Regions from separate parts of the Homo sapiens genome. Here region 2 is linked to region 1. Evidence: promoter capture Hi-C in human tissues and cell types (Jung and others, 2019). All regions are on one chromosome and are shown on one strand. Each heading gives the region's core, a stretch centred on a gene start or on the middle of the fragment in contact. The rest is flanking DNA. Distances are from core to core; before and after follow the strand shown. Region 1 holds the start of RAP1GAP (RAP1 GTPase activating protein). Region 2 overlaps ECE1 (endothelin converting enzyme 1).

Region 1 (7,161 bases), core at 2,486-4,985:
TTCCCTTCTTCCTCTCTGAGTCACCACCTGCCTGACAGTGCTGGTCTTTAGCCCTAAATATAGAGCACATTTTGAGGCATAAAATGTCCACAAATGTGAGCAACATAGCTGCAGCCCACTGCCCTTGGGTACCCTCCTCCTGGGCTGACCCCAGGGTGGCCGCCCCAAGAAGCCCTGAGACTGGCGACCCCTGCTTGGCCCTAGTGTGGATCCAGAGGCTGCACTCTGCAGGAAGTCATCAGCCTGGGGCCCCATGGGCCCACACTGCCACCAGAGCCCAACTTCCTTTCCTTATTGGCACAGGGCTGCCACCTCACACCTCTGACTTTCCTCATCCCCCAGCCAGGCTGAGCTGCCTCCCAGAGCTGGAGCTGGGCCCAGAGAGGGAAAATGACTTGTCCGGGCCACACAGCCAGCAAGAGGCAGGGCCAGGCTTGGACAGGGAATCAGCACTCTGGCAGGCTTGGTGTGAGTGCCGAGGGAGCATGGTGGAGCTGGGAGCCCCTCCCCATCTAGCATGTCTGCCCTGGAGGCCTCACCTAAGCCCACAGAAGCACCTCTCCACAGCGCCAGTCTCTCAGAGGCACAGGGTGCCAGGGCCAGCCTGGCAGAGGTCCTGGCATGCAAGGAGGTGAGCAGAGAGTGCTGAGGGCTCCCTTCCCTTCACACCAGCTGGCCCCCAGCCTTGCTGGGAGGACAAAGCAGAAACTGGGGCCTGGTAATGCCTCTAGCAAAAGTGGAAAGGAAAGGGAACCCCAGAGCCGCTTGGAGCCTGCACTGGGTCCTGTCCTGTCTTGGGAAGGACCTGCAGAACAACACCTTCAGAGACAGCAAAGGAGCAGCCTGGGGAGAGGCTCCCGTGGCAACCCGCTGGGTATGTACACAGAGGGGAGGCAGGAGAGGAGGGTCCACTGAGTGGGAAGCACCAGGCAGTTTCCCAGGATTCTTGGGGCCAGTCAAGCTGGGTCCACATGAATCAGAAAAGAGGGAGGAAGGGGAGGCTTTGCTGGGGACGGTCGGGGGCCTCCACTCCCCTCCCCGGGTGATGAAGCATTAACATCCCACACGCAGGAAGCTGATGTAATTCATGCGTGTGTGCACCCATGATGGCCTGGGTGTGGGTGGGTGCATGTGCGTGTCTGCCAGGTTCATTTTTAAGGGCGTAGGGCATCCTCGTGTTCTTCCTGCATGCGCGTGTACCATGTGTGCACCCTGGAGGAGATAATGGAGGCAGACGACAGAAGACGAGGGCTTCTGAAAAGGCTCTTCTCCTTGCTGACAACCTCCGTCTCTCTGTGTGTACACACGTGCCAGCATCTGGATGGTGTGACTCTCAGTGCTTGTGTGTCAGGCAGAGTCGGGGGCAGGGGTCTTGGCCTGGGTGTGCCCGTGTGTTCCTGTGTCTGGGTCTCAGGGTATCTGTCAGTCTAACTGTATTTGCGTTTGTGTCTGGCCGTGCTCAGGTCTCGGTTGTTTGCACAGCACATGCGGCTGCTCAGCAGCCTCTGACAGCCAGGACAAAGGCCTCCGTAGACAGATGGCAGCATGGAGGACAGATCTGCCCGAGGAGTCCTCAAAGGGCCTCTTGGCCCCAGAATTTGACAGCAGGGCAGGGGCAGGGCCAGGTGAGAGGGAGGTGGAGGCCCTGCTGTGGGAGCCTGAGGCCTAAGTGGCAGAGACCTCTCTCCCTGCTGCCCTCCAAGAGGCCAAAGGAAGAATCCTTCTTGTCTCCTAAGGGTGGAAGGTAGTTAGAGCCAGGAGAGGGGCCTCCTGAGACCCCTGCCAGGCAGGCACCTTGGGAAGAAGAGAAGAGGAGAGGGCTTTGCCCAAGCAAGCTGGGAAGGTCCCAGGGTGAAAGCACCATTATGGTGCTCCACGGGACAACCCTCCCTCCATGGGAAGGGGTGGCAAGGCAAGCCTAGGACTCTGGACCCTCTCCTCAACCTGACCCAGCTTCCAGCCACAGGCACCCTCACCTCCTGGCAGCAAAGGGGAGCAGGTCCACATGGACCACTCCACCACGGCGTTCACCCTTCCTCCTCTCCACCGCTGTGGAGATCTTCTCCCATCAAGAGTCAGAGTACCACGATTCTAGACCTTGCTGAAGGTGACTAGGTGACCTCAGGCAGTTCATTTAGCCTCTCCGAGCCTCAGTTTCCTCACCTGTGCAATGGAGGCTTCAGCGCCTGCCCTGAAATATTGCTGTGAAGGGGGAAATTGCTCGTGCCACCTGAGGATTAATCATTACCCTGGAACCCTTCCCAAGGCCATCAAGGAACACGCACCCCTTACCAGACCTTCCAGCTGCTGGGGGCTCTCAGAGTGAGGCTGAGGTCATGGAGAAGGGAATGGGGGGCCCCCATGGCCAGCTGGACCTGATCACTGCCTCCCCACTCAGCCACAGCCCTCAGGGCCCTGTGCCAGTCCAGAAGCCCATTCAGGGACACCTTTGGCCAATGTTCTGTTTCATCTGCGAGGCAACCTTCCCCAGTGCCCCAACCATAGCGTTTTCCCCCAAACACCCTCAGGAAGGAGGGACCACTACCTGTGCAGGGGGGGCCAGGAGCCTCCTGAGAGCCTCATATGGGGAGGAAGTGGTACCATCTCACCCCCATTGCCTTTCTCTCCTACTTCCACCTGGCCAGCTTCCCTCAGTGCCCCTCCTGCCTCAGTGCCCCTTCCCTCAGTGTCCTTCCTGCCTGCCGCCCCAGGGGCCTGACCTCTGACTTGGCAGGGAGGGGAATGGAGCCCGGGGACAGAGGCCAATGAGCCCTGAGAACAGTGGATGTTCTTCCTGACCCCACCACCGGGCCTGTGCTATGACCCCAACAAGGACTCCGAGGGCATGCACAGGCTGGGGTCTGTTATGGTAGGGAGGGGGCCGCTCACCTCCGGAGACTGTGTGTGTGTGCAGGTGTGCGTACACAAGGTTTCTTCCCCAAGCCCAGGCGCCCCGCAGCTGGCACCAAACCCTGCAGGGCACGGAAACCGCCCCGTGAATTCCCACCGAGTCCTCAGATCCTGCCGAGCCAGGGGAGGCGACGAGGGGGCGCCCAACTTCGTGACGCGTGTGCCCCGCTCTGCCGCGGGGGTCAGGGACAGGGGAATGCGTCCTGTCTCTGGGGATGCAAGGACATCACCGCCCTCCCCGCTCAGGGTCCTTGATCTGAGGCCCCCACTTCCCTCCTCTGAGGACAGGAGCGCCACCCTCTGGGGGGCGCTAGGGCTTGGGCCCCTCCCCAGGGATGGAGGAAACGCGCCCACTTCCCACAGTCCCTCCTCTAAACCCCAGGCGCCCCCACCTCGAGGTGGGCGGAAAACTGGACTCCCCACCCACCCAGGGGGGTGGGACCAAAGCCCCCTGGCCGCGGCCTGGACCAAGTCCAACAGGCTGGGGGTTCAGCCGGCTCAGTCCAGGCCTCCCCCCACTTCTCCAGCTGCTGTCAAGACCGGGCTGCGCGAGCCCAGCTGCGCCCACCCCTCGCCCCTGGAGACCCGGGTCCCCCACGCGTTCGCCCCCACCCTCCGTCCCCGCCCGCCCGCGCGGGGTCTTCGCTGCGAGCCGACGGGAGTCTGGACACCTCTGTCCCCTTCCCCTTTCCAGGGCCGCAGCCCTGGCGGGGCGCACTCACCCAAGGGCCTGGGCCGGGGGCGTCCTGGGCTCGGCACTCTGGTGCCCGCGGCCGCCGCTGCAGCTCTGCTCAGATGCGGCCGGCGCTCGCCGCCGCCGCAGTTCGGGGAGGGGGACGTCACATGACCGCGGAGCGCTCCTTCCCCGGCGCCGCTCCCCACTCACTGCGGAGCCCAAGCCGCGGGCGCGGGAGCGGCGGGGAGGCCCCCGCCCTGCCGCCCCGCCCCGCCGCAGGTCCTGGAGGAGGGTTCTCGGTGCCCCCATTTTACAGGTGGGGAAACTGAGGACCAGAGAGGGGCAGGGACTGGCTCAAGGTTACACAGCTAGACAGTGGCAGAACCTGGGCGACAGCCCAGCTGTCCAGGCAACAGCTCATGCTCCAAGGGGACTGGGACAACTTCTGGATCAAGTGGAGACGTCGGGATAGGTGGGGCCCACGGCCCCCATGGGCTCCGCTTGTCTGCAGGCGCGGGAGGAAGGCGCACAGGCTTCGCTGGGCGAGAAAGCTGCTGTGCCCTGGCTGACGCCCTCCTCACCCGGGCGCTCGGCGCGCTTCCTGGCAGAGGCCACGCGGTTGACCCTCGCCAGCCCATTCGCGGCTCTTGGACTTTGTCTCTGGACTGGGCAGCTCGCCCCCGCCCCAGCCTAACCCGGGCCCAGGGCGGGTGTGGGGAGGGGAGCCACAGGCTACGGAGAAGTGGAAGGGAGGCACCCGGAAGAGAGTGGGATCAGAACAAGAGTGAAAACCCAGGCAGGGAGGGGGCGGCAGAGATCACCTCGGCCTGACTTCCAAGGCCCAGGGAGAGTTAGAGACTTGCCCAAGGTCCACAGCAAGTGAGCGGCCTGCCCACTCGAGTCCCTTCTTTGATGGTCAACAGAGCCTGAGGCTCCTGTGCCCCACTCCCCACCAAGGGGGAGCCCTCACCCACACCTCTTTCTGTTCTCCACTGAGCTCCCTCCCCGGGGAACAGCCCACATGAAGCAAAGAAACACGCAGTGGGTCGGCAAGGCCAGAACTGGGGACAACGGGTGAGGGGTATGGTTGGTGGCTCCAAGGTCATGAACTCGTCACAGAACACTCGTGTTCCAGGGGGATCTCTGAAATCTCTGGATCTCACCCCAATGTTCTAAGAACTGGGAAAACAGGCTGCAAAAGGTACAAAGACAGACCTCTTTCTCAACCATTTCGAATTGGTGGGTCAAGCCGACAGGGCCCTCCAAGGTCAACAAGTCCAATAGGCCCACTTGACAGATAATATTTAGGGAGGGGAAAGTCCAAGACATGTACTCAATATATTTCTTGAGCATCTACTGTGTGCTTAAAACCACAACTGTTACTTCCAGCTCCCACTATTTTCCCGGCCACATGGGCTGCATTTCACAAAAGGAAAGATCCGAGGTCTTCAGCAACTCTTACATCAGCCTCTGGAGGATCTGAGACATGCAAGCCTCCGGGTTTTCAGTCCCATAGGGGCTGGGGACCAGAGCCATGTTTTCCGGTCAAGACTCTAATCCCCGTGGAGAAAAGGTGAATAAGGGGGAATAGCAGGAAATGCCCCACCCTCTTCCCACGCATCCACCCACCTGTGAAAGGGCAGAGGGGAAGGTAGATCAGGCACTTGTTCTTTTCAGTCCTCCCTCCAGCAAGCTTCCCTAGCTGTATATGGGAAAGAGACCCCAGCCCAGGGGGGTTTCTCAAACTTCTAAGAGTGCAGGAGCGGTCTGTAGACTCAGATTCAGATTCAGTGGGCCTGGAGCCTGAGCTCCTGCATTTATAATGAAGCTTCGTGGCTGCAGACATCCTGAGCAGCACTGGTAGTACAAGGCAAGTTGTCAGGGCAGGAGGAAGACTCCTGCGGTATCACATGCTCACTCATGGACCACCCAACCCGGGGGGCCCTTTGATCTCCTGCCTAGGAATACACCAGGACTATATAGTTGGCTCAAACACTGTAATAAAAAGGCAAGAAGTTGAATGAGGCTGGCCGAGGCGCTTCTGGGGATGATGGTGAAGGGACTGTGGGGCATAGCAACTGCCCTAGACAGGTATGTCCTGCAGGGCTCTGGTCCTGGGAGATGCTTGGTCAAATACATCCTACTTAGGAAATGCCAGCAGAATGCCTATAGACCTTCAAGGGCAGCATGTACTGGGTGGGGCTGGCTCATCTTCAGCAGGGGCGGGGCTCACAGATCTCAGAAGTACATGGATTCCAGGATCCTTTTAAGCACCATCTCTCTACCCATCCTCTCGCTTTTTTATGCATTGCTCCCTGAATTCAATTCTGAGCACAATCTTCATGCTTCTTGCTTCCCTAACTCCTGTTCCAAAAGGGCCCCTTTCTCCTCCACGCTTTAAGACAGAGACCCTCAATTCTGGCCAGGCATTGCTGATGGTACATCCCAGAGTGCTGAGTGGAGACAAAGGTGTCCCACCTGAGCTGGAGGGAGGGGGCAGATGGAGGCACTGGAGATGCAGAAATGCAGCAAGCCAAGGGGTACAGCTGTGTGACCTCTTCATGGTCCCATAACCTTCTGGAGTCTGGACCTGCAGACTCCAAGGTCCTTAAGAGCTCAAGAGCCTATTAGCCTGGGGGTACTGAATGTCCCCGACCCTGGCTGAGCAGACCAAAGAACGAAGTCTCTTCTATGCCAGGCGTCTCTATTTCTTCTTTATAATCAAGGAGCTTTTCAATTACAGCATTTTCCCCTTTACAGAAAACCTCCCTCAATGCAAGAGGCTTATAATCTCCCATGTGTCCTGGGGGGCACCATTCTGAGACTGTCAGGGCCCCTGGCGAGGAGGCAGCACGTGCCGTAGGGGGCTGGGCACAGAGCTTGGCATGCAGCCTAGCTACTGAGGGGGAAGATTGGACAAAGGCCCCGGAGCTTTGCTTTCCCTGTCCTATTTCAATCCAAACCACTCAGGACTGACCACTCACGCATGGCTGCCTCTGGGCACAAGCCTTGTCTCAGACACTTAATACATTGCGACCCAGCCACCATCTCTGTGCTCCCTATCACTGAGAAATGAAAGCTGGCTTTAAAAATCTGGCATCCAAAAAGGCTGGAGAACGAAAACATGGGTGGCACCACGGTAAACTCCAAATAATGCATGAGACTGCAGGTGAGGGAGGGGGGAACAGTCCTAAAATGGGAATGATGCCTCTTGGAAATAACTCCCCATCTCTGCCCGCCCACTCCTTCCCAGTCAGATCAAATGGGAGAAAAACTGAGATAGGAACTGCCCACCAGAGCAAGTAGGGGAAGAAAACCCCAAAGCAGCAAGTCCTCAAGGTGTGCTGTCCACAGAGCCACAGGTAAGGTCTAGGAAAGGCCGGCAAGGAGGGTGGGCTTCAGGGGCGGCTTGGAGCAGAGGACAGTTCCACTCTAACCACAGCAAGGCAGGATGAAGAGTGGCAGTCGGCGCCAGGGCACACGCATCAGGGAAGGGCCAGCGGCCCCCGTCTGGGTGGGAGGCTGCCAACCTGGTGCAGCAGACATGACAGAGACTACCCCTGGGGTTAGAGGAC
Region 2 (7,161 bases), core at 3,206-5,705, 390 kb before region 1:
TCATAACTTTCAAAACTCACAGTCAATACTAGTCAAAAGCTACGCCAAGCTTGAAGCCACAAAAGTAACGACCACAGCCACCAGTTCTTGTGTACACCCTACATGCCACACACACCATGCTAATGCTTTACACATGTGCTCTCTAGTTCTCAAAACTCTGTACCTTGGGTCTTATTAGTCTCATTTTACAGATGAAGAAACTGAGGTTCAGAGATATGTGACTTACTCAGGATCATACAATGAGTGAGGGCAGACATTCTAACCCAGCTTCACCTACTCCCAAGTCTATGGTCTTCCATTCTGCCAGGCTCCTCTTTTCTTGTTTTTTAGACAAGAGTCTCACTCTGTTGCCCAGGCTGGAGTGCAGTGGCGCGATCTCGGCTCACTGCAACCTCTGCCTCCCAGTTTCAAGCGATTCTCCTGCCTCAGCCTCCCGAGTAGTTGGGACTACAGGCGCACGCCACCATGCCTAGCTAATTTTTGTATTTTTAGTAGAGACAGGGTTTTGCCATGTTGGCCAGGCTGGTCTTGAACTCCTGGCCTCAAGTGATCCACCCACCTTGACCTCTCAAAGTGCTGGGATTACAGGTGTGAGCCACCGTGCCCGGCCCATTCTGCCAAGCTCCTCCTTTAAGCAGGCGCAGCTGGGAAGCTGGCTGGGCCAGCTGACAGCTCCCCGCTGTGGCCCATTTATTGGTCTCCATGCTGGATGCTTACCGAGGAGGTGCTTGATGATTGCTTGGTTGTGTTCCCAGAGGTTGCTGAAGGTCCCCCAGCGTGAGTGGCCATCAGGGACTGGGTTGGCCTTGATCCAGCCCCCACAGGCGTAGCTGAAGAAGTCATGGCAGGGGTCCACTGTGGGGTCCATGGAGCTCAAGATGGAGCTGGTCACTGAGACACAAGCTTCGCTCAGGCACACAGAGGGGGATCCTGGAAGGGTTAAGGACAAGAGGCCAGTGAAGGGCAGGCAGGGAAGAAGCAGGGAGGGCAGAGAAGGGGGCTTGGGGCCCAGGGGCCACATGTCCCACCCTGGCCCTGACCACACAGATTTGGAACTGGACGGTCACTAGACCCCTACAGAGAAATGATTTCCGCTTATAACACAAGACTTCTACTCAGCTGTCTAAAATCCTTCCTGTGGCTAAAAGGTACCCAGAACCCAGGTGTTTCTCTTAATCAACCTTCTCCTCCATAAATATTCATTGACTCTTTATTATTCCTTGATGCTCAACAAATTTATTCATTCACGCATGCATTCATTTATTCAGCAAGATAATGACTACCTTCCAGGTTCTCTGCTGAGTATGGAGTGCGTGTGTGTGCATGTGTGCACCTGCGTGAAAGTGTGTGCCCGTGCGTGTGTGCGTGTGTGTGTGTGTGTGTGTGTGTGTGTGTGTGTGTAGGGTACTGGGGTATTGGGCATAAAAAGGCAGAGTCCTTTAATCCAAGAGCTAACAATTCAGTTGGGGATATACACATAAATCAAAATGGAACAGTAGGAGAAATGTCTGTCCTCCTTTCTACAAAAATAAACTGAACATTTACTATGTGCCAAAAGGGTGATGTAGACAGTATGGATGACAGGACATAGGAAGGAGGAAAGCCTATTAGAAATAGAAGGAGGAAATAGGAAAAATCACTCCTACGTACAAGCAGGAGAGTGAGTGACCTCAGGGAATCCTCAAAAACCCAAAGGCTACGCCAGGTGCCGTGGCTCACGCCTGTAATCCCAGCACTTTGGGAGGCCGACTTAATCACAGCTACTTGGGAGGCAGAGGCAGAAGAATCGTTTGAACCCGGGAGATGGAGGTTACAGTGAGCCAAGATCGAGCCATTGCACTCAATCCTGGGGGATAAGAGCGAGGAGACTGGTTTGCCAGAGGCAAGAGGAAAGGGCCAGAGCCCTGCCTCAAGGTTGGCGGCTGAGCTCTCCCAAAGGACCCAAAGCCTGGGTGGCCTACGCAGAGGCCTGGCCTGAGGCAGCAACATGAAGCTGACTGTGCAGGATCGAGAATCACAGGCCCAGCCCCATCGTCCGTTTACCCAGGCTGTGCTGATGACCAAAGGGACTTTACTGAACGTGGCCGTGTACTGGGCACTTTGCACACATTCAGGATCTCATTTAACTCATTACAAGTCATCAGATGCAGGCATCATGTCCCTAGTTAAAGAGGAAACTGAGGGAGTGAACGGAACAAGGTCGCCCAGCTATGTGGGAGGGCGGAGAGCTGAGAGCTGGGCCCAGGCCTGTCTTGGTCCAGCCATGCCAAGGCTGTGTTTTTCTGCTTTCCTTCCCCACCTCTCTGCCAGTCACACGAGGGGCTGGTGCAGCCTGACTGCTGAGATCCGTTTCCCCACCACACAGGGAGGCAGTGAGGCAGGGTGGGCTTTGGAGGCCACTAGACCTGGGTTCAAATCCAGCTTTCTACGTTTGCCAGTGGGGCTTTGGGCAAGTGACCTCATCGCTCCATGCCTCAGTTTATCCATCTAAAAGTTAGGAAGAAAGGTAGGACCAATTTCACAGATTTCACAGTGATGATGGCCATGGCTGGGCACGGGGGCTCAGCTTCCTCAAGTCTCAGGGTCTGAAGTTTCAGGCCAGTCTTTAGAGAGCAGCAAAGAACGCACGAGCTAGTATGGGCAGTGTTCCCCTCACTCAGGAACATAAGGCCAGTGGGCAGAGGTTCATTTGTGGAATTAGTAACATTTGATGACAAACACATAGTCCTTCAGATGGGTGGCTGACAAAGGGCTCAGAGCAGCTGCACAACAGCAGGAAAATCAGGGTGATCTGACTTTGAGATAATCACACAACAATTAAAAATTATTGTTCACAGCCGAGAGGTGTGCCATAAAAAAATTATGGAGCCATTACACATGAAAACAGAGAAAGGAAATGGTGGGGGTGATGGTGCCATTTTAAATATCTCTAAATCAAATCATCTTAATCACAGTTGCATGCTCCACTCCCAAACTCGGGGAAGGCACCAGAATCTTTATGGGGCAGGGAAAGAATTTCCATGTAGGTTGAAAGAGCCTGTTGAGTATTACGATATAACTCCATACTTAGAGAAGGAAAAGAATACCTATTGTTTTCACACATCGAACCACAGGAAGGAAAATTTTACAACATCTTGGCTGGTGGAGATGCCCAGGAGACAGGCTGAGAGTGAGCCTAACGCGGGAAGACGCATCAGAATCTGTGTGTATGTGTCTGTGTGTGAGAGAGAGACAGACTGATTAATTAACTGATAAAGGTTTTTGCTGTTATCACACAGGGACTTGGGTTTAAAAACAAAACAAGAAACTAGTCCCAGAAGTCAGTCTCAGAGGCCGGGCTCGGTGGCTCATGCCTGTAATCCCAGCACTCTGGGAGGCCGAGGTGGGCGGATCACCTGAGGTCAGGAGTTCGAGACCAGCCTGGCCAACATGGTGAAACTCTGTCTCTACTAAAAATACAAAAATTAGCCAGGTATGATGGGGGGCACCTGTAATCCCAGCTACTTGGGAGGCTGAGGCAGGAGAATCTTTTGAACCCGGGAGGCGGAGATTGCAGTGAGCCAAGATCGCGCCACTGCATTCCAGCCTGGGCGACAAGAGTGAGACTCTGTCTCAAATAAATAAATAAAGCAGTCTCAGAAATTTGAGTTCTTCACTAAGTGCCTACTTTGCTGGACATTGGGCTAGGGACCTACGAGGTGCTTAAGGAGCAATGGCTTGATTATTTAACTATTTAATGGTTTGCAGAAACTTCATGAAATATTCCTGGCCCAGGAAGTGCTTCATGCATTTTGATGACCTCATGGTTTCCAGGCCCCCTCATCTAAGGCCCCCTCTTCCTACGGAAACCTTCATCGACCCCCTTCCCTCTCTGGGCCCCTCAGCGGCCTGGGTGCCTGCTCTGCTACTGTGCTATGTCACGACCATCTCCTTGTTCATTTCTCCTACTAGAATGTGAACTTCAGGGCAGGCCAATATCCTATGCGTTTTTATATTTCCATTGTCTAGTACTGTGTTTGGCAACTAGCAGCTGTTTAATACGTGCTTTTTTTTTTTTTTTTTTTTTTTGAGACAGAGTTTTTGCTCTGTCACCCAGTGCAGTGGCATAATCTCGACTCGCTGCAACCTCTGCCTCCTGGATTCAAGCAATTCTCCTGCCTCAGCCTCCTGAGTAGCTAGGATTACAGGCATCCAACACCACGCCTGGCTAATTTTTGTATTTTTAGTAGACACGAGGTTTCACCATGTTGGCCAGGCTGGTCTTGAACTCTTGACCTCAGGTGATCCACCCGCCTCGGCCTCCCAAAGGGCTAGGATTATAGGCGTGAGCCACTGCGCCCGGCCTCAATACGTGTTTTTGAATGAACAACCGAATGAATGAAAGGCCTTATTCAGCACTTGTTCACCACCTGCAGAGGCAGCAAACATTTCTTTCCGTTGGGACATGCGTGATCAATTGAGAAAGCAGAAACAGATCCTAGATTTAATTTACAGACACTCATCTGGACAGCCTGGCCTCAAAACTGTGTAGAATGCTTTCTTTAAAATATGTTCTTGGAGAATGTATTGTTTGTTTTGCTGCCTCTGTTTGCAAAGCACCAGCATGTTTCTGGAAAGGAAGCATAGCAGGAAGGTAAGTAAACACGTACTATGTGTCCAGACATTCCCAGAGGCTGGCCTTCAGAATCATCAGATTTGCTTTCTTTTTTTTTTTTTTTTTTTGAGACGGAGTCTCGCTCTGTCGCCCAGGCTGGAGTGCAGTGGTGCCATCTTGGCTCACTGCAACCTCTGCCTCCCAGGTTCAAGTGATTCTCCTGCCTCAACCTCTCGAGTAGCCGGTGTGCACCATCACAGCCACCTGAGTAGCTGGGACTACAGTTGTGCGCCACCATCCCTGGCTAATTTTTGTATTTTTAGTAGAGACGGGGTTTCACCATGTTGGTCAGGCTGGTCTCGAACATCTTGACCTCAGGTGATCTGTCCATCTCGGCCTCCCAAAGTGCTGGGATTACAGGCGTAAGCTACTGCGCCCGGCCAGATTTGCTTTGACTGGCCTGATGTTTGCTCAGATGTGGCCAGCACCAGCACCTGCTCCTGGGTAATGAGGTTACTGTTAATATCTGGGGTGGTCACTGCTTTCCCAGGTGGCTCAGGGGTCACCTGATACTCTGCCCAGCTCCACTCCAGGGGAAGAATGTTCCTCTCCCAGGTCCAGGCTGGAGAAAACCCTTCTGAGACCCAGAGAGGGACACAACAGAGGCAGAAGCAGGATTCCTCCCAAGGGGCCCCACTGGGCAATAACAACAGAAATGTTTTGGGTCTGATCATCAGGAGCTGGCCCGTGGGGACTCCCCCCTGGTTTCTGGTGAAGACATATCTTTGGAGCTCCGAGGGGCAGTCTCAGGGTAACACTGGCTGCCGGAGTCTGGCCAGCTCCCGCTGCTCTGAGCCAAGAGCTGTGCAGACGTGCTGGCCAGGGTCCACACTGACCAGGAGGGGGTTCAGAACTAGAGCTGATTTAGGCTGAGGCGACATGGCAGTGGCAGGAGAGGATGACGAGCTTGTGTCCTGTTAGCAGAGGAGGCACAAACACACACACACACACACCAGGACACGATCACACAATATACATACACTCAGCAGAGAAAGGCTGTTCCCAGCCTGATCTTCCTTCCTACCCCTTCGTTCATTCAAACATTAATTTATTCATTTTACTATCTGCACACCTATGGCACAGGCACTATGCTAAGCACATCTGGTTAAGGGCCTGAAAACTAGTCATTAATTAGTCAAATATGCATTAAGCACCTGCTGAGCCAGGCACATTTGGTAAAACACCTACAAACCATTATAGTTAACTAATCAAGCAATTATTTCTTAAGTACAACCTATCTTTGTGGAATGAATGAATACCTGTGTGCCTTACCCAGGAGGGATGGAAGAATGCTCAGATGAAGGCCCTGCTCTTTTCTAGGCCCCTGAGTCCCCTCCCCACCCCAGCGCAGCGTGGCCACCCTCACAGACCAGCAACTTCACAGAGGGAAGGCTCCACACAGCCTGTAGTGGATGTTCCAAGATCCTGTGAAAGCTCCTAATCTCTCTCATGGGGTGAGCGACCGAGTCAGTGGGTGGGATGCTGAGCAGAGCCCCCAGAGGCTGCTCAACTAGGTGAACCATCTGCCATCAGAAGAATAGATGTTGGGGCACAGGGGACTGAGAGGCCCTGGCTTTGGCTAATTCCCCATTCTTATTTCTAACTTGGATCCACCCCTTCGCACTTCTTAAGTGTTTACTGAGCATCAACTCTGTGTGAGGCAGCTGGCTAGATCCACTTAGTTGGAAACAGAGAACCAGTCTCAGACCCCTACAGCAGGATCAGAGTGGCCCAATTGTATCACCATTCAAAGTGGGACAAAGGCACCGATCAAGGAACACGATGGGCAGCTGGATCTGGAAGGGCAGCTCTCCTGGGGGTGTAATGCGCTCTGGAGCGTACTTGGATTACAAAGGGAGGTGGAGCCTGGGCTTGAGCCCAGTAGCCTGTGGGTGAATTCCAACTTCCGCATTGGATTAGCAAGTCACTCTATCTCAGTGCCTCAGTTTCCTAATATGGAAAAGGGGCCAAAAGTAACCACACTTCACAGGGCTGCCTCCAGGAGGAAATGAGATTGCATCTGAAGCGAGGGGTGTGGTATTTGGGTATTTGGTCCGAGGAAATAATTCAGTAAACAGAGGGCATTATTGTTATTTTATTGGAACTAGAGATAGCAGACAATGTCAGCCTATGTGTGTAATTACCCCACATTCTAGCAACAACAGTACCCAGAGCTAAAGTTGAAGAAGTCCTACGAGGCACCAGCTATGGGACATATGTTATCTCTAGTCCGCAGACCCATCCCCCAGTTGGGTACTGTTTTCCCATTTAAATTAGAGAAGACACAGGCTGAGGGAATAAGTGACTTGTCCGAGGTCACACAGCCAGTAAGTTGCTGGGACAGGATGTGGACTCAAGTGCGAGACCTTTATATCACCCACGCTGCCCACTTCCCGGGTCTTGGTCTATCTCAGCACCCAGACCCCCCTGGGCCTGGCTCCCTCCTTAGCCTCAGAGCCCTGCCCCGGCTTAAGCAGGGAAGCCCCCCTCGCCCGAGCTGACGGAGC

The links. The method cuts DNA at HindIII sites, captures the fragments that hold promoters and counts their contacts. A contact is called where the count stands out against the background at its distance.
Region 2: a fragment that was not itself captured here is called in contact with the fragment with the promoter of RAP1GAP in region 1 in 1 of the 25 tissues and cell types used here (lymphoblastoid cells).

Annotation. Positions count from the first base shown.
Region 1 is chr1:21,665,622-21,672,782 of GRCh38, forward strand. RAP1GAP (RAP1 GTPase activating protein) reads right to left here and starts at 3,736. Exons shown (of 25, transcript NM_002885.4): 1 at 3,633-3,736. RefSeq lists enhancers at 437-937, 4,456-5,655 and a silencer at 3,658-3,807. The HindIII fragment of the contact is 12,626 bases long and covers 1-7,161 here.
Region 2 is chr1:21,271,982-21,279,142 of GRCh38, forward strand. It overlaps ECE1 (endothelin converting enzyme 1), which reads right to left. Exons shown (of 19, transcript NM_001397.3): 4 at 718-930. Among named protein-coding and RNA genes, the nearest start is that of ECE1, 15 kb to the right of the region's middle. RefSeq lists enhancers at 2,105-2,604, 4,750-5,728, 5,729-6,705. The HindIII fragment of the contact is 7,958 bases long and covers 477-7,161 here.